Linked DNA regions of Homo sapiens: regions 1, 3 and 4 are each linked to region 2. Evidence: promoter capture Hi-C in human tissues and cell types (Jung and others, 2019). All regions are on one chromosome and are shown on one strand. Each heading gives the region's core, a stretch centred on a gene start or on the middle of the fragment in contact. The rest is flanking DNA. Distances are from core to core; before and after follow the strand shown.

What was found. The method cuts DNA at HindIII sites, captures the fragments that hold promoters and counts their contacts. A contact is called where the count stands out against the background at its distance.
Region 1: a fragment that was not itself captured here is called in contact with the fragment with the promoter of NEUROD2 in region 2 in 1 of the 25 tissues and cell types used here (dorsolateral prefrontal cortex).
Region 3: a contact is called between a fragment that was not itself captured here and the fragment with the promoter of NEUROD2 in region 2, in 2 of the 25 tissues and cell types used here (mesenchymal stem cells and ovary).
Region 4: a fragment that was not itself captured here is called in contact with the fragment with the promoter of NEUROD2 in region 2 in 3 of the 25 tissues and cell types used here (adrenal gland, mesenchymal stem cells and spleen).

The regions. Positions count from the first base shown.
Region 1 is chr17:39,450,434-39,457,016 of GRCh38, forward strand. It overlaps MED1 (mediator complex subunit 1), which reads right to left and starts at 830. Exons shown (of 17, transcript NM_004774.4): 1 at 605-830. The coding sequence starts at 629. The HindIII fragment of the contact is 5,170 bases long and covers 2,594-6,583 here.
Region 2 is chr17:39,603,969-39,610,621 of GRCh38, forward strand. NEUROD2 (neuronal differentiation 2) reads right to left here and starts at 3,952. Exons shown (of 2, transcript NM_006160.4): 1 at 3,760-3,952; 2 at 1-2,636. The coding sequence starts at 2,631. The coding sequence ends at 1,483. The HindIII fragment of the contact is 16,482 bases long and covers 1-6,653 here.
Region 3 is chr17:39,802,790-39,809,106 of GRCh38, forward strand. All of the region lies in intron 3 of IKZF3 (IKAROS family zinc finger 3), which reads right to left. Among named protein-coding and RNA genes, the nearest start is that of IKZF3, 58 kb to the right of the region's middle. The HindIII fragment of the contact is 6,845 bases long and covers 1-5,412 here.
Region 4 is chr17:39,844,855-39,850,699 of GRCh38, forward strand. The region is part of intron 1 of IKZF3 (IKAROS family zinc finger 3); the gene reads right to left. Among named protein-coding and RNA genes, the nearest start is that of IKZF3, 17 kb to the right of the region's middle. The HindIII fragment of the contact is 5,152 bases long and covers 1-4,881 here.

The DNA.
Region 1 (6,583 bases), core at 3,929-6,428, 150 kb before region 2:
AACACAGTTCACTGTATCAACAGAACTATGCCCAAAATGCTAAGGCAGCATCTTAGCCGGAGTGTGGAACTTTAGAAAATCTTAGTAAAGTTCCACAGAAAAGTTGTTTTTCTGCAGTTCGTAGTTCGGTCAATAAAAGAACGAAATTCAGCGCACTTTAAAAATACACAATGGCACAGGATCTGAACACTTGACATTGTAGAGAACTGCTGGCTGCTAATAAATATAAGGACCTAATCATTTCATTGATGCCAAAATAGTCTCCAGTACGTTTACACACAGCCCTAAATTTATTCAGGCGTCTCTTCTGGAACGAGATGTAAGCTGATTTTGTATTCATTTGCCCCGTCTCCCACCACTTTAGGCCAAAAGTGCCCTAGTCGAGCATGAAATCTTCACAGAAGTTGAGAGTCCCCATCGCCCTAAAGTCGAAGCTCTATAATCACCAAGGAGGGTATAGTGACAATCTAAAACTAATACACATTCCCTCTCCTGGACTCTATGCCCCTAAAGTGGCCCCCATGGGACATCTGCAAGAACCTCCTCTCACAAACTGGCTCCCCCAGTTGTGTCCCGCCCCCTCCTTTCCCCTACAGTCACTTACCCTCGGTTTCCCCCTGAGCTTTCATCCTGAAGGCGAGGAGAAGCTAGATCCGCCACAAAAGGATAAGCCCTTCCCCACCACTAACGGAGGAAACAAGTTGGCTCGGGATCCCGGGACGCAGGGCACCAGCAGTCCCTACTCTTCCCGGGAAGGATCAATCTGAAGTCCCCGGCGGCAAGAAGAGAAGGGTGCTCGAGGCCGCCGCCATCTTCCCCAACGGAACTTCCCAAAATTCGCGAGATAAACCGTGGTCCTGCCAGAGAGAGGAAGAGGACAGGGCATCGAAATCTCGCGAATATTGGTCAATGCGTCGGCCTCGCGAGATTTCTTTCAGCGCAGTCTTCCCTTTGATCTGAGCTGTCTCAGGCCTCGCGCCGCTGGATATTAAACCTGCCGGCCGGTAGCTTTCGGCTCCCCTGCGGAAACCGCCATTTTTTTTTTATTTTAGCAGTTAAACAGCTCGCAAATTAAAATCTCCAGATCCCTGTACTGAAAGACTAGCTTTTCTTTTTTTTTTAATTTTTTTTTTTTTTTTTTTGAGATGGAGTCTTGCTCTTGTCGCCCAGGCTGGAGTGCAATGGCACGATGTCGGCTCACTGCAACCTCCGCCTCCCGGGTTCAAGCGATTCTCCTGCCTCAGCCTCCCGAGTAGCTGGGATTACAGGCACCCGCCACCACGCCCAGCTATTTTTAGTAGAGACGGGGTTTCGCCGTGTTGGCCAGGCTGGTCTCGAACTCCTGACCTCGCTGTCCGCCCGCCTCGGCCTCCCAAAGTGCTGGGATTACAGGCATGAGCCACCACACCCGGCCATGACTAGATTTTCAAAGGCTATTGGTATCAGGAGTGTCTTATGAAAGATAAGTTTAACCTGAGATACTAGATGCAATAATTACATCCTAAGAAAGATAGTGGCGCATTGTAACATGACGTTCAAAGCGAGCCTATAGCACAGTTAATTCCCCTTTTCTCATTTTTTTAGTTTCAAAACTATTTCTGGCTAGGCGCAGTGGCTCATGCCTGTAATCCCAGCACTTTGGGAGGCCAAGGTAGGTGGATCATCAGGTCAGGAGTTTGAGACCAGCCTGGCTAACATGGTAAAACTCCGTCTCTACGAAAAATACAAAAATTAGCCAGGTGTGGTGGTGCGCTCCTGTAATCCCAGCTACTCGGGAGGCTGAAGCAGGAGAATCTCTGGAACCCGTGAAGCGAAAGTTGCAGTGAGCAGAGATCGCGTCACTGCACTCCAACCTGGGTGACAGAGTGAGACTGTCTCAAAAAGAAAAAACTGTATCCTTTACTATCCTCAAACTAAGTGTTCTTCACTTAGTAAGCATCTGTGGAGTCCTAATATGTGTATATTTGGAGCTGCTAATACAAACATGAAAACACGGCTGGTCGCGGAGCTACTCAGGAGGCTGAAGCAGGAGAAGCGCTTGAACCTGGGAGGCAGAGGTTGCAGTGAGCCGAGATCATGCTACTGCACTCCAGCCTGGGTGGCAGAGCAAGACTCTGTCTCAGACAAATAAACAAACATGAAAACACAACCCTAGCGCTTGATAGGCTAATCTTATTTAGAGTTCCGAAAATATGATTGGTCACTATAATCATAGGGGCTCAAAATTTTTTCATTAATTATTATGCCCTAAGTACCAATGCCAGATACCCAACTACACTTTATCATGGAAACTCTATACAAATAAAAAAAAAAGTCTGTACTAAGTGTTGCTAGGAAATTTTTAACTTTATAAAGCTTATAAATAAACTTTACTAACTTCTGGTTACAGAATGGAATGAGAAGTTATCATTTGTCATCTGAAAATGCAGATGAGAGACACCATTGGAAAAGTTCTACTCTAGAAGATAAGAGAGCAATGTCCTTTGGGAGGCTGAGGCAGGTACTTGAGATCAGGAGGTCGAGACCAGCCTGGCCAAAATGGTGAAACCCCATTTCTACTAAAAATACAAAAAATTAGCCGGGTGTGGTGACACATGCCTGTAATCCCAGCTACTGGGGAGGCTGAGGCAGGAGAATCGCTTCAATCCGGGAAGTGGAGGTTGCAGTGAGCCAAGATCGTGTCATCGCACTCCAGTCTGGGCAATAAGAGCAAGACGGAGTCTGAAAAAAAAAAAGAAAGCCATGTCATTAAACAAGAAAAGTATTCAAGGTACATATAGGAACAGTATACATAGGAAAATGGGTACAATGGGCAAATTGTAAGTGACTAAGCTTTGAAGGAGGCGCCAAAGGACTCTTTTTTTTTTTTTTTTTTTTTTTTTTTTTTTGAGACAGTGTCTCGCTCTGTCGCCAAGGCTGGAGTGCAGTGGCACAATCTCGGCTCACTGCAACCCCCGCCTCCTGGGTTCAAGCAATTCTTCTGCCTCAGCCTCCCAAGTAGCTGGGACTACAGGTGTATGCCACACCACCCAGCTAATTTTTTTGTATTTTAGTAGAGACAGAGTTTCACTATGTTGCCCAGGCTGGTCTCGAACTTGAGCTCAGGCAATCCACCCACGTTGGCCTCCCAAAGTGTTACGATTACAGGCATGAGCCACTGTGCCCGGCCCAGAGGACTCTAAACCTAAAATCTAAACTAACAAATTGGTTTGTTGGGGAAAAAGAGCTATTGAAACTTTAGTTAAATATTTCTTCTTGTGTACAGCCTAAATGGAAACTTTCTGACTTGTTTTAGTAGATTTGCAGGCTAAGTATTGCCATCACCTGACTGATCACTTGGGGTTCACAGAGTTGCCCTGACTCTCTGCCCTTGAAGGTTATGCAAATAAAGCAAATGGAGCAGTCCTGGAATTTCTGAGTTCAAAGTTTTTCTGTATAATGAAGCAACCCTTATTTTACAAAAGCACAGATTGGATCAATACCTGCAGTTTACAGTAGATATTGTATTTTAAAATTTAGATACAGCCTGAGATTTTCTGCTGCAGAATTTTATTCACCAAAAAGAGGAATACCATGTTAGGGAGATTATCTAAAAGAAAGAGAGAGAGAGAAAGAAAGGAAAAGAAGGAAGGAAGGGAGGGAGGGAGGAAGGAAGGGTAGTTCAATACAAAGTACTGGTTTAGTATGTAGAAGTGAGGTGTCCCGGCTCCAGGCACTTTCTACACTTAAGTGTCAACATGGTCCAATCTAACTCCTTCTCAGTGTCAGTTTAACCTATATTAGATGTCGATAATAAGTGGCTCACGCCTATAATCCCAGCCCTTTGGGAGGCTGAGGTGGGTGGATCACTTAAGGTCAGGAGTTCGAGAACAGCCTAGCCAACATGGCCAAAGTCTGTCTCTACTAATAATACAAAATACAAAATAATACAAAAAAATTAGCCGGGCATGGTGGCGCATGCCTGTAATCCCAGCTATTTGGGAGGCTGAGGCAGGAGAATTGCTTGAACCTGGGAGGTGGAGGTTGCAGTGAGCCAAGATCCTGCCAGTGCACTCCAGCCTAGGCCACAGATTGAAACTGTTCTCAATAAGCATAATAATAATAATAGGCCTGGTGCGGTGTGGTGGCTCATGCCTGTAATCGTGCCACTGCACTCCAGCCTGGGCGACAGAGGGAGACTTAGTCTCAAAAAAAAAAATAAAAATAGTAATAAAAATAACATAATTTCATTAGTTTATTTATTCAATTGAAATTTATTGACGGGATTAAAAGAGTTCCGTGAAAAATTTTAAAGTGCTATAGAAATTCAAGATATTATAAGTTCAAAGTTTCAGGGATAAAGCTTCATTCTTTCATTAGTTACTGGTCTCTAATTGGCTTCAAGAGGCAGTAACAGATAATTTTGAAAGGTTCAGCCAGGTGCAGTGGCTCACGCCTGTAATACAAACACTTTGGGAGGCCGGGGCGAGCAGATCACGAGGTCAGGAGATCAAGACCATCCTGGCCAACACAGTGAAACCCGGTCTCTACTACAAATACAAAAAATTAGCCGGGCATGGTGGCAGGCACCCGTAATCCCAGCCATTTGGGAGGCTGAGATAGGAGAATGGTGTGAATCCGGGAGGCGGAGCTTGCAGTGAGCCGAGATCGAGGCGAAGCTTGCAGCGAGACGAGATCGCACCACTGCACTCCAACCTAGGTGACAGAGTGAGACTCCGTCTCAAAAAAAGAAAAAAAGTTTCTGCTGGTGTTTAATCTGGATAATCAATTTAATTCTTCCAGATTTTGACACATCACCGATGCCTTCTGTCGTCTTCACTTTTCCATTCTACTGTGGGTACATCGTGAATTAAAAACTTGATCTCAGCCAGGCACAGTGGCTTGCACCTGTAATCCCAGCACTTTGTGAGGCCAAGGCGGGGGGTGATCACAAGGTCAGGAGTTCAAGACCAGCCTGGCCAAGATGGTGAAACCACGTCTCTATTAAAAATTAAAAAAAAATCATCTGAACATGGTGGCAGGCGCCTGTAATCCCAGCTACTGAGAAGGCTGAGGCAGAGAATTGCTTGAACCTGGGAGGCGGAGGTTGCAGTGAGCCGAGATGAAGCCATTGCACTCCAGCCTAGGCAACAGAGGGAGACTCCATCCCAAAAAAAAGGCCAGGCATGGTGGCTCACACCTGTAATCCCAGCCCTTTGGGAGGCCAAGGCGGGTGGATCATGAGGTCAGGAGTTCAAGACCAGCCTGATCAACATGGTGAAACCCCGTCTCTACTAAACATACAAAAATTAGCCAGGCATGGTGGCGTGTGCCTGTAATCCCAGCTACTAAGAAGGCTGAGGCAGGAGGATCGCTTGAATCAGAGAGGCAGAGGTTGCAGTGAGCCAAGATAGTGCCACCGCACTCCAGCCTGGCAACGGAGCAAGACTCCATCTCAAAAAAAGAAATTAAAAATAAAAACCTGATCTCATTTAAAAGACAGAAAAATCAGGGTGAATTTTATTGAACTCATGACAACAAACCCATGCCAACACTTACTATGGCTGACTGGTCACTACATTTAATCAGCCCAGGAAGTCTCATGCCATCTGTCATCATGTAAAACATTCAAGGCCAGACACAGTGGCCCATGCCTGTATTCCGAGCATCTTGGGAGTCCAGGTGGGAGGATCCCTTGAGCCGAGGACTTCAAGAGCAGCCTGGGCAACATAGCAAGACCCCGTCTTTACAAAAAATAAAAAAAAAATTAGCCAGGCTCTGTGGCTTACACCTGTAATCCCAGCCAGGAGAGGCTGAGGCTGGAGGATTGCTTGAGCTCAGGAAGTGAAGATGGCAGTGTGTCAGCCGGACACAGTGGTTCACACCTGTAATCCCAGCCCTTTGGGAGGCCAAGGTGGGTGGATCACCTGAGGTCAGGAGTTCGAGACCAGCCTAGCCACATGGCGAAACCCCATCTCTACTAAAAATACAAAAATGAGCCGGGCATGGTGGCAGGCGCCTGTAATCCCAGCTACTCAGGAGGCTGAGGCAGGAGAATCACTTGAACCCAGGAGGTGGAGCTTGCACTGAGCCGAGATCGTGCCATTGCACTCCAGCCTGGGGGACAAGAGCGAGACTTCATCTCAAAAAAAAAAAAAAAAAGACTGCAGTGTGTCATGGTCATACCACTGTACTCCAGCCTGGGCAACAGAGCAAGACCTTGTCTCAAGAAAATAAATCCAGGTTGTCCTGGCAACACTGTACTCCAGCCTGGGCAGCACAGCAAGACCTTGTCTCAAGAAAATATATCCAGGGTGTCCTATCCTCCTATAGCGGTGAATAAGGAGTGTTCACAACTGAGTTCCAGTACTTGTGTTTTTCTTTTCTTTTCTTTTTTTTTTTTTTTTTTGGAGACAGTTTCACTCTTGTTGCCCAGGCTGAGTGCAATGGCACCATCTCATCTCACCGCAACCTCCACCTCCCGGGTTCAAGCAATTCTCCTGCCTCAGCCTCCCTAGTAGCTGAGATTACAGGCATGTGCCACCACGCTGGGCTAATTTTTGTATTTTTAGTAGAGACGGGGTTTCTTCTTGTTGGTCAGGCT
Region 2 (6,653 bases), core at 2,702-5,201:
TGCCTCCGGTGGGCAGAGGGTCTCCTTTTGCCCCTTTTTGGGGGAACCTCCAGTAGGAGCCCTCAGACCTCTCCCCGCCCACCCACCAGCTAAAGCCAAGAGGACTCCTTGGACCAAAAAATACTCTCTCCAGACACCGGAAATCGCCAGGTGGCACCCACCGAGGCACAGTCCGGGCAGGGGTGGGGCTGCCCCCAGGTCTCCATCCCCACCCCTCACCCCAGGAGGGGACAGAATGGCCGCGGGGAGGAGGAGCCGGCGAGCTCACCTCCTTCTGCCCCCCGGACGCCGGCGCCGGGCCTGCTTGTGCGTGCGGTGTGGTGTGCGTGTGTCTTTCATGCAAACCCTCCCTCCCCAAACCGACCCCCCAACAGTTTGCCATTCCATACAAATTTGGAAACAGGTTTTTAAAAAACAGCATGACGCACAACGGGGACGGGGCGGGGGAGGGCAGTGGCACTGGGGCCCCAAATCTCCGAGTCACTGATTGTAAGAACCTGGGGAGGGGGAGGGGGCGGCGCGGGCCCCCACTTCACCAAAGTGCACAGATCCGCGCTCGGGCGGGGCGGCCCGCAGGCCGGGCGGGGCATCCCGGGGCCGGGCCGGGCCGCGAGGCTCAGTGGAGCCTCCTTGCATAGATATTTGTGTCTTTGATTATTGGTAGTAGTGGTTTTTTTTTGTTTGTTTTTTTGTTTTTTGTTTTTTTTGCCTTTTATTGCTTCTAAAAGTCCTTACTGCGTTTTCTCTCCGATCCGGACTCTGCGTTCGGCTTCCGTCGCCTCTTAGCTTTTTTTTTTTTTTTTTTTTTTTTTTTTTTTTTTTTTTTTGTATGTTTGTTTGTTTAAAAAAAGGAAAAGGGAAAAACGGATTCTAGTTACAAATTGTCTTGGCCTCTCTCTTTCCTCTCAATCCACTTCCCCTCCCGCCAAAATTAAAATCGCAAAACGCGGAGACTGGAGGTTGGGGGTGAGGGCGTTCCAGGCCCGGGCTCCGGCGCCCTAACTTCTACCCTCTTCAAGAAAGAGGGAGCGCCTGGCTCCTTTTTGCCTCGGCAGCTGGGTGTCTGTTTTTAAAATAATAATGAGAGGGGGAAACGCGTTCCATTGCTCAGCTGCCCCCTTACCAACGCCTTGGGCCTGCAGGGAGGAGGGGGAGGAGGAAACCTCAGCGAAGATATTGGGAATGGGGGAGGGGTGCCTCCAGGGAGCCCCCGGAGAGAGGTCCCTGGAGAAGCACTCCTTGGGAGAGAGGAGGAGGGAACCCCTTGGGGAGAGAGAAGGCGAGTCCCCTGGGGGAAGCGAGGCCCCTGGGACAGGCCACCCACAGGTAACAGGACTGCGCTGCCCCAGGAGAGCGGCAGGACCGGTGGCCCGCTCCCCGCGCCCGGCGCCGGGGTAGGATGGGGGTGTCCCTGCGCTCTGGGGGCTGGGGACAGGGGGGCGGGCAAAGGCAAAAGAAAAAGAAGGGAGCCGGCGCGAAGTCTCAGTTATGAAAAAACGCATTGAGCTCCTCGTACATGGGGCCCCGGTCGTGGTGAAGGTGCATATCGTAAGACAAGAGATTCTCCGAGTGGACGCCCCCGCGCACAGCCGACGAGCCGAAGACTAGCCCGTGGCCCGTGGGCCGCGAACCGGGCAGCGCCGAGTAGTGCATAGAGTAGTGGTAGCTTTTCTCGTGGTCGGGCGAGGAGTCCTGCTTGAGTGAGAAGTTGCCATTGAGACAGAGCGGGGGGCTGAGCGGGCCCTCGTACTCGGAGCTGTTGTAGTCCGGGCTCGCGCCGCCACCGCCTGCCGCCGCATACAGCGTCTCGTAGGCGGCGCAGTAGCCGTGGGTCCGCAGGGCGTGCGCCGCGCCGCCGCCCAGGCCGCCGGCCGCCTGGCACTGTGCGCCCGCCAGGCGCGAGCACGGGTACGGGTAGGGGTGCATGGCGAACGGGCCGCCCGAGCCGTGGAAGCGGCCGGCACCGTCGGCGCCTTGCTCCGTGAGGAAGTTGCGAGAGTTGAGCTGCAGACAGCCGGCCACCAGATTGGTGGTGGGCTGCGACAGACCCTTGCACAGAGTCTGCACGTAGGACACTAGGTCTGGCCGCTTGCCGGAGCGCAGGATCTCCGAGAGCGCCCAGATATAGTTCTTGGCTAGGCGCAGCGTCTCGATCTTGGACAGCTTCTGCGTCTTGGAGTAGCAGGGCACCACCTTGCGCAGGTTGTCCAGGGCTGCGTTCAGGTCGTGCATGCGGTTGCGCTCCCGCGCGTTCGCCTTCTGCCGCCGAAGCTTGGAGCGCTCCAAGCGCGCCTTGGTCATCTTGCGCTTCTTGGGCCCGCGCTTCTTGGGCCGCTCGCCCTCCGCCTCGTCCAGTCCTTCTTCCTCCTCCTCTTCCTCCTCCTCCTCTCCCCCCAGCTCGCCTTCCTCCTTGACCTCGGCCAACGTGGCCTCCGTCCCCTCTTCTCCACGGAGAGGGACTGGCTTGGCCGCCCGGGCTGGCCCCGGAGCCCCTGGCCCGGGCGCAGGCGGTGGCGGTGGCGGCGCGTCGCCCTTGTCGCTCCTCGGCTCGTCGTCTTCGCCGTCGCCCCAGCTGGCGAACTTGGGCACGTCCGAGAGAAGGCCGGGCTCGCTGAACAGGCGGGTCAGCATGGTGCCTGAGGGCGCCCCGCGGGCGGGAAGGGGAGACAGACAGCACAAAGTGAGGGGCGCGCTGGGGTACCGACGCCCCCCCACAACCCTCCTCCACCCCCGAGTCTCGTGCGGGCTCCTGCCTAGGCTACCCTGGATGCCCACCTCCGCCGCCTGCCCCGCCCAGAGCCGGCCCAGCCCTACCCGGCTGCCGGCCTGGGATCTCGGCCCAGGCCCTCTCCCCGGCGCTGGGCCCCGGCTCCGCCCCTCGCTTGAATGGGGGGCTGCTCCCCGCGCCTGCTTCTTCTCAGGGTCAGGGCAGGGACCGGGTGGGGGTTTTAGGGACCAGATATCTTTGCCAGGGGAGGCGGCGCGCTCGCCCTGAAAGCCCGTTCTCTCCTGGCGGTGGAGAGAGGCTGGTCGGCCGCCGGTGGGGACAGCTGCCCCGCTCCGCGCTCTCGCGGCCCGGGCCCCCCGGCCCAGCTCCCTCACCCCTCCCGTGGCTCTCACCCCCACGCTCCCTAATCCAATTTGCAACTTGGCTGCGCGCCGCCCCTTGCTCGGCCCCCACCCCCGCACCCCCAATTCCAGAGGCGGGAGGATCGTCTCCTCTAGCCGATGCGTCCCCAGCTCCCGGAGCCGGCTCTGGGCGGCGAGGACTGAAGCAGCGGGGCGTGGGGAGGAGACTGAGAGAAGCGAGCCCAGTCCGTCCCCTCTGCGGTCAGGGACCCCCTTCCCCCTTCAAGCTGACTCCCTCCCACAAGGCTCTTCAGATCTCGTTGTATTTTGGGATTGATGGGGGAAAAATCCAAATTTGTTTGTTTGCTTCCCTTTTTTCGGTGGTGGGGAAAGGTGGCAGGCTTTTTGGGACAACCATGGAGGGGTCCTCCGTCTCGGCCTCTTCGCATATCCCCCTCCGTGATCCTGCCTTCCCCCCCCACCGAGCCCATCGCAGGCAGAGACACCTCCTCTGCAGCCCCCTGGGCTGCAGCCCCTAAGGGAGAGAGAACCTGGGGCCCCTCCGATGCCCACCCAATGAGGGGGGCATCATCCCAGGAAGGAGGTATTTGAGGACCCTCCTGTCGGCCGAAGCTGCCGCCCCTCCTCCCAACCGGCGGGTCAGATCTCGCTCCCTTTCGGACAACTTACCTCGGAGAGGAGTCAAGGGGAGAGGGGAGGGGAGGGGGGGAGGGGGCAAGAGAGAGAGGGGGGAGAAGAGGGATCTTCTCGCTTATTTCATTGTTCCCCCATCTTCAGGGAGCGGGGGCAGCGGCTCCTCAAGGCGGCGGGCGCCGGCGTCTTCAGAGCGCCATGCGAACCGCGGAGCGAGTGTGGCATCTCTACCAGGCGGGGTACCAGCCTCTATGCCAGGCCATATGGGCTTGGCACGTCACGGGCAGCAGCTATCACATGAGAGACGGTGATTGGCATGCGTCTGCACTGGGGGAGAGCCGGCTCCCCCGGGACCCGCCGCCATCTGTCACTCTCTACTCCAAAAAAAAAAAAAAAAATTAAATAAATAAAGGAAATAAATAAATATTTCTGCCGCCCTCCCCTCCCCGCCCAACGCAGGGAAAGCAGGGATTGAGAGGAAGGTGGGAGGAGTTGCCCCCTGTATATAGAGACCCCCTCACGGGAACAATGGGGTGGCAAGGCTGGACACTGGGGGCTCGTGGTGGCCAATTCTATGCTCCCTCAGGGTCCCGCTCTGTCCATTTCCTCCCCTGCAGGCCCCCAAGGTGGGTCAGGGACCAGACCCCGGGTTGGGGAGAAAGGACCTCTGTGCTTGCCCCCACTCCCCAGGAGGGTCCCCTTGGCCACAAAGGGACAGCTGAGACCCCCTCCCAGGATGGCTGTAAGGGGCGTCCCTGGCCCGAGCCCCATAGGTAGATGTTGGCACCATGCCATCCCTCATCCCTGTCTGCCCCTCCCCCACCCACCCTCACGCACACACAACATATGTGGCTAAACGAAATTCAAACCAAGGGAAAGACAGAGAAAGGGAAAGATGTGCCTGGATGTCTGTGCCTCTGCATGGGCGTGTGTGTGTCTGTGGGGACATGTGTGTATCTGTGGAGTCAGCCGATGGGAGATCTTTCCTTGGTTGTTGGGGGCGTATCCATGTTAGGGTGGAGTGGGGAGGGGCCGCGAGATGAGCCTGTGCACCACCCATCTGGGGGTGGAGGGGAGGGTCTAAGTCTGGATTCCTAACCTAGAAACCTCTCACTCTCCTCCTCCCACTGCCAGACAGGTGACCAGTCCACCAGCGGCTTTCTCTCCTGGTCTTCAGACTTGGTTATTTGAGGGAGGAGGAGCAGGCAGTGCTGAGAACTGCCTAAGTTCCTGGATGAGACTCAAGCATTCTCCTCCCCTTCTGAAAAATCTGAAAATACTGAAGCCAACCCCAGTAATCCCAAGAGTGGCCAAGGGGAGGTAGGTCAGACAGCTGTCTTGATAAGGGAGGTAGGAAGTTGCTGTTTTATCTTGTGGCTCACCTTTCAACACTCTCATTGGGCCAGACACAGATACAAATGGCACAGGTTGAAGAGGTGGCTTTGGACACACACACACACACTCATGCACACACACATACACACACACACGGATGCATACACATGCACACATATACCTGTTCCTCACCCTGTGGTGTAGAAAAATAGATAACATACCCCTACTCAGATAGACACATGTATGTGAGCAGGTAATCACAGCCTGGTGTAGACAGACCCTTGCCCACACCCCATTTGGAGCATTTGTATGTTTTAGACCCACATTTCTGCCCCTCCAGACACTCTAGCTGACATATATACACAACTTCAATTATACTTTCAGCACACACATTTTGATGTCTACCATGTGCCAAGCACTGTGGTGGTACAAAAATGAGCACGGGGAGGCCTTTACCCTCAATCTGGGTGGGCAGGGCTCTCTCCCTCTAGGAGGCTCCCCAGGGACCTTGGGCTGGTAAGACACTGATCTGATGTTGGGTAGGTTGGATTAAGTTCTAAATAGAGACACACATCAGGAGGCCTTGGAGATAGGGGTGCTGGTGCTGCCTGGGACTCTTGAGTCACTTGGCTGGGAGTTGAAAGTAGCCTGAGAATGTACCTCTCCAACTCCTCATCTTACAGAGGCCCATGGAGGGAAACTGACCTGCCTAGGAACACACAGGGGAAACACAGAACTGGGCCTAGAATTCAGGCACTTGACCCACAGACCAGTACTCCACTTATAAGCCCACAATCTGCCTCAGTGGTCTCTAAAAATAAGCCTACCATGCTTCCCTTCATTCACGAATCCTGGGTCTGCAAGGCGAATCCCATCTCTGGCAGATAGTCGTGGTGGGGAGATTCTGGGCATGGCAGAGAAAGAGGCCAAAGGATGGGCTTCAGGTAGGGCAGAGACTCAGGAGTGCTGGCCAGCCTCCACCAAGTTTGGGCACAGCCTCCAAGGCTTTGCAATCCTTTTACTGAAGCAGGGTCCTCAATCCTGACTAGTAGCCTTTTTCCTGGAGTCTCCTGGCTCTGTGATATTTCAATTACATGCCCATGCTCTGGGCTTCTGATTCCTGGCCAACCCCATTACCAACTTAAAAAAATGTTGGTCCCAGCCAGGCATGGTGGCTCACGCCTGTAATCCCAGCACTTTGGGAGGCCGAGGCGGGTGGATCACGAGGTCAGGAGATTGAGATCATCTTGGCTAACACGGTGAAAACCCATCTCTACTAAAAATACAAAAAATTAGCAGGGCATGGTGGCGGGCGCCTGTAGTCCCAGCTACTCGGGAGGCTGAGGCAGGAGAATGGCGTGAACACGGGAGGCGGAGCTTGCAGTGAGCCGAGATCGCACCACTGCACTCCAGCCTGGGCGACAGAGTGAGACTCCGTCTCAAAAAAAAAAAAAAATGAGAGGCCCAGCATGGTAGCTCACACCTGTAATACCAGCAGTTTGGGAGGCTGAGGCCAGCAGATCCCTTCAGCTCACAAGTTCGAGACCAGCCTGGGCAGCATTGTGAAACCCTGCCTCTGCCTAAAAAACAAAAAT
Region 3 (6,317 bases), core at 740-3,239, 200 kb after region 2:
CAGCCAGCCTGGGCAACAGAATGAGACCTGTCTCAAAAAAAAAAAAAAAAAAGAATCTAAACTGGCCATCAGTAAATCACATCACTTCAAACACAAGAGCATTAGCATGTAAAAAGTTTCATTTGCAAAGGAACTACCCTCAATTTTACTAATAACATTAATTTTTGCCTTATCTGACTATCAAATAGCTCATTCATGGGCATAATAATAAAAATAATTTTGCTTAATAATTTCAGTGCAATTCTTTGCTTCCCCATTAGAAGAAGAGGAGATTTACTACTTTTACAACAGAAATACACTATACATCAGCAGTAGGTAAGGTTCCAGCTGCTCAGCTGGGCTAAGCTCTTCAAATGTCATGGGGCCAGGTATAATTCTTTATCTAGAATTGTGAGGACTGAAGGCCATGATGTATGAAAGGTCTTTCTAAACTATAAAGAGTCTACAAGTATATTGTTTCATTTCTGCCCATTATAACAATTACTTTTTCTATTGATTATTTTCATCTATGTATTAAACTCTTTTGTATTTATATTTTTGAGAAATAACTGCTACCCATCAAAAAACAATGGATGAAATACATTTAAAGAGGCTGAAGTTTTAGATGTTGCCTAAACAAGCATAGACTAAAGTAGTTACCTGGTAGAAACTTCATTTGTAAATCCGAAAGAAAAAAAACTTCCTTTTTCATTCAAAATTCCCTTGCATAGAATATTCACTCTATCTTTTTTTTTTTTTTTTGAGACAGAGTTTCGCTCTTGTTGCCCAGGCTGGAGTGCAATGGCGCGATCTCGGCTCACAGCAACCTCCACCTCCCGGGTTCAAGCCATTCTCCTGCCTCAGCCTCCGGAGTAGCTGGGATTACAGGCATGTACCACCATGCCCTGCTAATTTTGCATTTTTAGTAGAGGCAGGGTTTCTCCATGTTGGTCAGGCTGGTCTCGAACTCTGGACCTCAGATGATCCGCCCACCTCGGCCTCCCAAAGTGCTAGGATTACAGGCGTGAGCCACCGCGCCCAGCCACTCTATCTTTTTTAAAAACAGGAATGAAAAAGTTTAAAGCATGTTAAAATACAATTCTTAGTAAAATTCAAAAACTGTCATCCAAATACAATTGGCTAAAAAACATTCTGACTGTCACAATACCAAACTCAGGGTCACAGGTAAAGGAAGGAATGAAAAAGTCTTCTATATCCAGAGCATAAGTAGTTCTTGGTGTATATAGCATGTTTTGTGTTATATCACAATTAGTGTATTTATCTCCCATATAGACTAGGAGTATTTTCAAGGTGGGGACCAGGTTTAAATAATATTTGTGTCCCCAGAACCTAACAAGGGCCTCGTTACTTTAGAAATTGAATGAATGGGCCGGGTGTGGTGGCTCATGCCTGTAATCCCAACACTCCAGCACTTTGGGAGGCCAAGGCGGGCAGATTATTTGAGGCCAGCAGTTCGAGACCAGCCTGGCTGACATGGTGAATCCCTGTCTCTACTAAAAATACAAAACATTAGCTGGGCATAGTGGCACGCGCCTGTAATCCCAGCTACTCAGGAGGCTGAGGCAAGAGAATCGCTTGAACCCAGGAGGCAGAGGTTGCAGTGAGCCAAGATAGCTCCACTGCACTCCAGCCTGGGTGAGAGCGAGACTCTGTCTCAAAAAAAAAAAAAAAAGAAATTGAATGAATGAATGAATGAACTTCTTGGGCAGCCTGAACCAATTTAGTGATGATAACTAGGCCAGGCAGAGAAGAAGTAGTAGATCACAATAGACCCCTAACTTGTCTACAAGATTCTGATGCTGTCATGCAGTATGTAGTTTCTCTTAATGCATCAGAATAAGGTCCATGGCCCACAGTGATAGCCAGTCATCTAGTTGACTTCTTTGCCCATTGTGGTCTGGCTTCTGCCCTTCCTGCTCCACCATTTTGCAATAGGATGCCACTGGCCAGTCCCTGCTTTTTAAATCTCTTTCCTTGGCTTATTCTTTGCTGGTCCTACTCCTACCTCACTTATTTACTTATATCCTCTGTTTATTCCTCTTTCTCTATCTCCTAGATGTGAATTATTTCCTAGGGCCTATTTCTTGAAACTTTTGCCTTTTCACTTTACATACTCTGTCTCCTGATCCAAGTTTTTATTGCTGTTGACTCTCAAATTTTTATTTCCGGTAGACCTGGAAAGCCATAGACATATACTTCCTGACATGTACAATCACTTCCTGAATTTCCAACACTTATCTCACACTCAACAAGTTGCAAACAAGCTCCTTATCTCTCCCATTTCTTCTCCGCTTTTCCTATAATATTCCCCGTTGTCCTCTCTACATAGTGGCTGTTTGATGTCAACGTCTGTATATTATGCTGCTTCTATCAACATTTAGCACTGATACAGAGCTCAGTGACTACTTACCAAACAAACAAGGAAGTAAGGAAGGAAAGAAGATAAGAAGGAGGAAAGGAAAGCGTGAACAACTATACTATTATTTGCTTCAAGTACAAAATTAGGGTTGACAGTGTTTTTAAAAATTGTACAGATTGCAATTTTGCCTAAAGCTAGCATATTAGCCGAAGACAGAGGGAAAAAATAAATTGTTATTTCTAACTCAAGGTATAACAATCAGACCCAAAGCGTATAAAGGATTCTTGGATGAGAAGGAAATGAGTATAAGGATTAAGAATTAGAAGACTCTTGTTCTTTTTAGCATTACATTAAAATACAAAATAAAAATTAACATTTACCATCTGTAACATATTATTTAGACTTTTACCCATCTCTGGTTCTTCCCTTCCTTCTTCCCTGGTTCTCAAATAATGGAATTAGAGCACTGAGAAATAATAGAAGAAACTCAGCACTGACTTCTCCTGGGTGAATGTACAACATTAAAAGCACACAAGGGAATGAGCTATCTTGTCACTGGAACATGTTCATCCCTGGGGATAAAGTGTAACAACTGCTTAACAGCTGCCCAGTAACATACTTCAAGGCTGCAAGCAAAGATGCATCCTAGCTCTACTGGAAACTGCAGAGGGAATATTGTCTGGCAGAATAAAACTAGAATAGAATCTGGCCAACAAACTGCAATCTATGTCCTTTCTATTTCAAACAGCAGCTTCTAATGATCACAGAGAGGTTTCTACTAACAATATTCAAGTAATATTGGATGGGTATTGGTAATTACAGGGAAGGAACAATATGGTATTTAACTTATTTTTTTCCACTGAAAATAGAGTTGAATGACTTCTTTTTTTTTAAGTTTCTGATAAAAGAGCATGGGCTTTGGAGTAAGACAGAACCCAGGTTCAAGTTGTACTAACTAGCTGTGTGACCTCAGCAAGTAATTTGACTTCCGTGAATTTTCTCATTTGTGTTGCAGTAATGATAATATCTATACCTAATAGGGCTGTTACAGTAATGAAATTAAGCAAAATAATGTATATATAGGCGTAGCATAGTAGCTGGCACATAATATGTTCATGACCTTGAGACAGGCAAAGATTTCTTAGATACAGCACTGAAAACATGATTCATAAATGAAAATATCCTGCAACTCAGTAAGACAAATAATCCAATTTTAAAATGCACGAAAGTAGTCTTTAGCTTTTCTAAGGTAATAAATAAAATTTTTAAAACGCACAAAAGATGTGAATTAACATTTCACCAGGAAATTATATGAATGGACAACAGACCAATGAAAAGATGCTCATCATCCTCAGTCATTAGAGAAGTGTGAATTAAAACCATAATGAGATTCCACTTCACACCTGCTAGAATGGCTACTATAAAAAAGACACAATAAAGAGCGCTGGCAAGGATGTGAAGAAAATGGAACCCTCATCCGTTGCTGGTGGGAGTGTAAAATGATACAGTCATTTTGGAAAACAGTTTGGCAGTATGGTGGGCAGCCTTCTAAAACGGCTCCTAGCATTCACACCCTTGTGTAATATTCCCCTCCAGTGTGGGCTGGACCTAGGTGATTGCTTCTAATGAAAAAAACATGGAAAAGTGATGGAAGGTGTCTCTTCTGTGTTTAGGTTATAAAAGACTGTGACTTCCATCTCTCTCTCTCTTTCTCTCTGTGGTGTTTCTTGCAAGCTTCTCAGATGAAGTAAGCTGGAGAGCAAGGAGCTGAAGGCAGTGTCTGGCCAACCTCCAGTGAAGAAACGAGGCCTTCAGTCTAACAGCCTTCAGGAACTGAATCCTGACAACAACCACATGAGTGAGCTTGGAAACTGATCCTTCCCTAGTCAAGTCTTTAGATGAGACCACAGTTCAGGTCAGTATCTTGTTAGCAGCCTTGGGAGAGACTGAAGCAGAGGACCCAGATATGCTGTGCCTGTATTCCTGAGATAATATGTTTTAAGTTGCTAGGGTTTGGGGTCATTTGTCACACAGCAATCAATAACTAATATAGGGGTAGTTTCTTATAAAATTAAACATAAATTTACCATACAAGCCAACAATTCTAGGTATCTGCTCAAAAGCAGTGATAACCTATGTCCACATAAAGACTTGTACATAAATGTTCATAGAAGCTAAAAAATGCAAACAATTGAATGTCCACCAAACAGTGAATTGATAATCAAAATGTACTATATAAATACAATGATATTCTTTTTTTTTTTTTTTTTGACAGAGTCTCACTGTCACCCAGGCTGGAGTGCAGCGGCATGATCATGGCTCACTAGGCAGCCTCGACCTCCTAGGCTCAAGCAATCCTCCCACCTCAGTCTCCTGAGTAGCTGGGACTATTTAAATTTTTTTTTTTTTTTTTTTTTTTTTGTAGAGACGGGGCCTCTATATGTTTCCAGCTACTCGGGCGGCTGAGGTGGGAGGATCACTTGAGCCCAGGAGTTTGAGACCAGCCTAGGCAACACAGTGAGATCCCATCTCAAAAATTTTAAGAAAAAAGAAATAAAAGAAACAAACTACTGATACATGCAGCAACATAGATGAACTTCAAAAACATTATGCTAAGTAAAAGAAGCCAGAAACAAAATATTACATATGGTATTATTCCATTTATATGAAATACCCAGAAACAGTAAATCTTTAGAGACAGAAATAATTAGTGGTTGCCTGAGGCTGCAGGCAAGAATGGGGATCAACTACAAACAAGTACAAAGGGTTTTTTAGGGTGATGGAAATGTTCTAAAACATGGTGGTAGTTGTACAGCTCTGTAAATTTACTAGAAAAGTCATTGAATTGAACATTTAAAGTATGTAAATTATAACCACATTAAAGCTGTTTTAAAAAGAAATCTATACAGATAAACAAAACAAAATAAAATTGATAGCTCTGATACTGACTCTGATACTGACTCTGTCTCAAAATGGGAATGTTTAGCTACCCATTCACCAATGATTACAAGAAGCATCATGGTAAGTATAGTTTCTGAGCTATGATTACTTCCATATGACAAATGCTCAGAAGACTATTTTTAACTCCTTTTGTTCCTGTACAACTGATTTCATTCCCTTTCAACAAAATTAACAAGAATTAGCTTGTTGAAAAACACAAGGGCACCCGCTACTTGACAGTAGGAAAGGAAGGTTAAAAAATCAAGTATAAAAGAGTTGGCCTGATTGGACATTTCCCATACTTAGTTATTTTATTATCGATTTCAGACAAATACCTAACTACTGATTTTTGCTCTTTCTAAATTGGGCTAAAATTCATAAGGATCCAGATACATAAGGATATATTACTTCTTTGTTATATTTTGTGCTTTTATGGACCATACTGTCTCACTTTCTGTTCTGTTAATAATTTAGTGTGTTTTACTAGGCTGTGGTTATTAATTAGTTAATGAGCACTATCTCTGGACTGCAAAGCAGCAGTGATATAAATGCACCTGGGGAAGTTCACTGAGGGTTCATTCAGGAATGTGAGTTCTCTCGTAAGACAAAATAAGAAAATAAAGAATTATCTTTTCTTTACAGTCTGAGAGAGAGAGAGAACTAGTACAACCTGAAGGACTAGAACCGGAAAATCAAGCTGATGGTAAGTAAGGAATAGGTCATATAAAAATGCAAGAGAGAGTTCTGGGCTCCAAGTAATGAAAAGAGTAATAATGGACCATTAAGTAGTGTTTGTTCAAATGTCGGTGGATGGGAGGTATGACCACAGCCTAGGCTGACTTAACAGAAGTTAACAAAGAGCCTTTCCTATTTTCTCAAGGGCTGCTATGAAATTACTTAAGGAGTAAGAAAGGATAACAAAGGCCCTGGCTGAGATTTTTGCTTCTGTAGACGCAGGTGCAGAAAAGGCTGGTTCTAACACATCTTGTCAATGTCTTTAATGCCACCAGACTGATGA
Region 4 (5,845 bases), core at 1,056-3,555, 240 kb after region 2:
CAGGTAATCCGCCTGCCTCAGGCTCCCAGATCACCATCACTCATTTTTTTAAATCTGTCTTTTCCCACAAGAATGTAAGCTCCATGAGAACAGTGATGTTGTCTGTTTTGTATTGCTGTATCTTCAGCCCCTACACTAGTGTCTGCTCATGATGGACACTGAATAAATACTTGTTGAATGAACAAGTGAAGTTTTATATCTCTATTGTTGATCCCTATGAACGCACTAGATGGTTTTGCAAACTATGGCTCACTGCCTGTTATTGTACTGCCTGTGAACTAAGAATGGTTTTTACATCTTTAAATGGTTTTTAAAAATCAGAAGAATACACTTGAACATTTTACAAAATTCAAATTGCAGTGTTCATCAATAAAGTTTTATTGGAGGCCAGGCACGGTGGCTCATGCCTGTAATCCCAGCACTTCGGAAGGCTGAGGCAGGTGGATCACTTAGTCAGGAGGTCGAGACCAGCCTGGTCAACATGGCAAAACCCCGTCTTTATAAAAAAATACAAAAAAAAATTAGCCAGGCTTGGTAGCAGGTGCCTATAATCCAGCTACTCAGGAGGGGGAGGCAGGAGAATCACTTGAACCTGGGAGGCAGAGGTTTCAATGAGCTGAGATTGCCCCGTTGCACTCCAGCCTGGGCAACAGGCCAAGGCTCTGTCTCCAAAAAAGAAAAAAAAAAAAAAAGGTTTTATTGGAACACAGCTAAACCCATTCATTTGTATATTGTCTATGGCTGCTTTTGTACTCCATCAGCCAACTAAGTAGTTGTGACAGAGACCATATGACCTGCAAAGCCTAAAACATTCACTATCTGGTCCTTTACAGAAAAAGCTTATGGAGCCCTGTTCTAGGTCTATTACTAATACTTCTATGTTTACTTTCAAAACCCTGCAATTGGAATTTCAAGAGAAAGTTGCGGTTTTCACTGACGCAGTAATCAAAGAAATAAAACATTTAGACAGCACCTTTCATACAAAGCACTTTACAAATGTCACTGATTGAAAAATTAATGCGACTTTTCAGAGGGTAAAAATATCGACCACAGGATATCCAAATATCCAGATAAAATATTTTTAAATGAACATACATGTATGTATACAAATATATACTTAGCATCATGTTTTCATCAGGATTTTTGGGTATCATTAGATAAAACCATTTTCTTATTTCATTTAAAAGCCAGAGTTGTAATCTAGCAGAAAACTCTAGTTAATACCTATTTCATTTGTCTTTTTGCTCTTTCCACAACTAAATAACCAATCTCCTGATATGTTTTAAGGTTTAATTAAAACATAAGTGTTTTCCATTAACACCTTATCTCTTAAATAACACATCTTCTAAAGGACACAACTAGTCTACTACTGAGATACTGACATATATATTAGACTGTAAAAGTTAAAGCTTATTTCTTTTGCAGTGTTCCACAGCACTCTCCCATTCATAGCTACTCATAGCCATTCTAGCAATCTCAAATTGTTTTCTACCAGTATAGAAAACAAGACTTCATCACATGCTTACTAAGAGATGATAATTTCAAATTCGTTTTTGGCTTTTTAGATTCTCTTTTCATTGACGATGACACTATATAAATTTTCTCACCGGTTAGTTTTTTTAAGATACCAAGGTTTTTTTTTTTTTTTTTTTCAGAGTTTCTAACATTTCATGTGCTGTAAAACGAAAGGGGGCAGATTATAAATAAAATTTAAACTTGGAAATGGCAGGAGTCTAGTTAATTGAGATTTCATGGAAGTTCACATATGAATGCTTTACCTATTAGTTCAAGTATAAATTAGCTATGAAGAAAATCAAATATTTACATTAGCAACAAAAATGTACAATCATGTTTTTAATTCTAATGGTTATAAACTTGCCTTTATTTCTAATACTGTACTATTAAATAATTACCATTGAATTAAGAATATTAGCTAACAAAATTTTCCTCTTAATTTCAGAGATCATATTTCTACTCCATGGTCTGTTTTCCCAGTAGGAAGTATAAGCACTAAAGGAAAGCAAAATGTCAAATCTCAGAAAGAATCCTGTATTGAGTTTGCCAGCTGTCAGGCACCAGAGGTGCCTGGCAGCTGCCAGAAAGCTATCTCTGAATGTTGATATTCCATTCCTTCTTTATAATAGTAAATGGAGTCCTTTATACCCATACCTCTTTTTTAAAAAGAAAAAGTTTATCTTATCTAAAATGTTCACTTTTACTTTATAATTAAAAGTTTTAGAAATTGAGGCACTGATTATAAGAATGTTTTCAGAATTGCAACATTAACACCTGGGACTGTAAATGTGGCAGAGAAGCGTTCGCTGTCATTTCTGCAAAATCCTTTACCAGTTCTCCGTATCACCATCATATATAATCATTCCTCAAATTCCATCAGTACAAGAACAGTTCTGTAGGATGAAAAATGATCCCTATAACCGATGAAATTAGCATATTAGAATCGAAATTATTATCATAACTAGCTTACCTCTCCTTCCTCTGCCATCTGATGTTTGAATGTCCTCTAATATCCCCCTACTTGGGTTATACAGCCTCTGCTTGAACACTTCGAATAATACAGAAGTTATTCCTTTCCATTTCAGAAAAACTCTAGTAGTTAAAAGCATTCTTTCTTAAATGTAGCTGAACTCAAATTTACTGAAATGTCTATTTCAGGTCCTAGTTCAGCTTTCTGGGAACATACAGGATAAGTTATAGCTCAGATGTTACCACCCAGTTTCCTGACCATGGTGAGAGCTGTCTTCTGAACCCGTTTTTGTTTGCCTGTGGCTCTCCAAAAACGTGGCATCAAGCACTCAGCCTAATAGTGCAATGAGATTTCTTTTTTTCTCATAACAATTCTGGAAGATAAATAGGGGCAATGGCATTTATTATTTTCCCCATTTTACAGACAAAATCCAAGATACAAATAATGACAAAAAACATAAAGGCCAGTAATCGCCCAAGGGCACAAAGTCAGTGACACATTAAGAAGAGAAGCAGGATTTGTCTCTTGAGTTTTACTGTTGCTTCAGAGAATTTAAATCGTGTTTTAAATGCCTTCCTATACAGATTACAGATTTTAGAAGGCCAGAACTAGAAGAAATTTTAGATCCAATTAATTTCAAACACCCTAACTGACTGTGCATTATTGCTGATTGAGGGGAAAGGAAGATAACAAAAACAAAGACATGCATTAAAGTGAGAGTAATCCCTCCAATCATGAAATACTTCCTTCCCTATTTCCTTGGGCTAAGGTAAATGTTAAGAAACATCAAGACTGCTTGCTTAAAAACACCAGATCAAATACAACCAAGTTACTGTTCCAGTTCTTCCTACCCTCCCCCTTTAAAAAAAAATAAAGCATTCCATTTTTTCTCCTAGATTAAGTGTTTAATGAGGAAACTGTAGACCGTGGGGCACAGGTGAACTGCTGACAACTGTTGTTAAAACAACAAAGTCAGTGTCTAGTGTTATTTTCCTTCAAAGGTCAGTTACCCTTAAGTTGTAGACAAAAACATACATTCCAATTTTACCTTGTATATCACATGCTACCAAATGAACATGCAGAGAGAAAAGGAAAAATGGGCATTTCATGTCATTGCTACTTTAAAAAGATGTTTCTGGTAAAATGATTGAATCTAACATATTGAAATGAAGACTTGTTTTATAACTGTAAAATGCCTAGTTTTATAACTGTAAAATAGCTGGAGCCAAAAATAGAATCATTAATTTGAAGTGGGTAACAGAGCTAAATATGAAAGTTGAAACAATCAAACTTCTAGAGGAAAACAGAATATTCTCATGACCCTGGAGTAGGTAAAGATTTATTTTTCTTTTTTTCTTAGAGACAGGGTCTCACTCTGTTGCACAGGCTGGAATGCAGTGACATGACGTAGCTCACTGCAGCCCGGAACTCCTGGGCTTAAGCAATCTGCCCACCTCAGCTTCCTGAGTAGCTGAGACTACAGGTGTGCATCACTACACTCAGCTAATTTTTAAAAAAATGTTTGGAGAGATGGGGTCTCATTATGTTGCCCAGGCTGGTTTTAAACTCTTGGCCTTGAATGATCCTCCCGCTTTACCCTCCCAAAGTGGTAGGATTACAGGTGGGAGCCAACGTGCCTGGCAAAGAATTCTTTAGCAAGATATAAGCAGCACTTAGTCACAAAAAAGAAGCTGATAAATTAATCTTCATTAAAATTAAGAATTCTATTCATCAAATAGATTAAGAAAAATAAACAAGTTACAGACTGGGATAAAGTATTTGTATTACACATCTGACAAAGTACACATTACTGGCTGGGTGCAGTGGCTCAAGCCTGTAATCCCAGCACTTTGGGAGGCCAAGGCAGACAAACCACCTGAGGTCAGGAGTTTGAGACCAGCCTGGCCAACATGCTAAAACCCTGTCTCTACTAAAACAATACAAAAATTAGCCAGGTGTGATAGCACCTGGAAAAAAAAAAAAAAAGCCCACAAAATCAGTATGAAAAAAGACAACCCAATTAAAAAAAAAAAATCCAGCCAGGCGTGGTGGCTCATGCCTGTAATCCCAGCACTTTGGGAGGCCAAGGCAGGCGGATCACCTGAGGTCAGGAGTTTGAGACCAGCCTGGCCAACATGGTGAAACTCCACCTCTACTAAAAACACAAAAATTAGCCAGGTGGGGCGGTAGTCACCTGTAATCCCAGCTACTCAGGAGGCTGAGGCAGGAGAATCGCTGGGAGGTGGAGGTTGCAGTAAGCCGAGATTGCACCACTGAACTTCAACCTGGGCAACAGAGCGAGACTCCGTCTCAGGAAAAAAAACAAAACAAACAAACAAAAAAACGTGAATGACCAGAAAACCTTAGACGCTTCAGGAAAGAGGATCCAAAATGGCCGATAAACATAAGAAAAGACACTCAATGTAATTACTCATCAGGAAAATGCAAATTAAATTAAAACCACAATGAAATACCACTCACTACACACCCAAAAGAATGGTAAAAATTAAAAAGACTGATAATAGCAAGTGTTAACAAAAAGATGTGGAACAAGTATAACTCTCAGACATTGCTAGTGGGAGGGTAAACTGATCCAACCACTTTGGAAACTCTTTGGCAATATGTATCAAACCTAAACATACACCTATATTAGAACCCAGAAATGGTATTCCTGGGGGTGTGTGTGTGTGTGTGTATATATATAATATATAGTATATTATATATGTATATATACTATATGCATATATACTATATAGCATATTATATATGTATATATACTATATGTATATATACTATATAGCATATTATATATGTATATATACTATATGTATATATACTATATAGCATATTATGTATGTATATATACTATATAACATATTATGTATGTATATATAATATATAGTATATACAATATATAGCATATTATGTATGTATATATAATATATAGTATATACAATATATAGCATATTATACATGTACATATAATATATAGCATATTATACATGTACATATAATATATAGCATATTATATATGTATATATAATATATAGCATATTGTATGTATATATAATATATAGCATATTGTATGTATATATAATATATAGTATAAATATATAGCATATTATACATGTACATATAATATATAGCATATTATACATGTACATATAATATATAGCATATTATACATATTATACATGTACATATTATAGCATATTATACATGTACATATAGTATATAGCATATTATACATGTACATATAATATATAGCCTATTATATATGTATATATAATATATAGCATAAATAACATATAGTATATATACTATATATGTATATGTATATATACACATATTATATATACA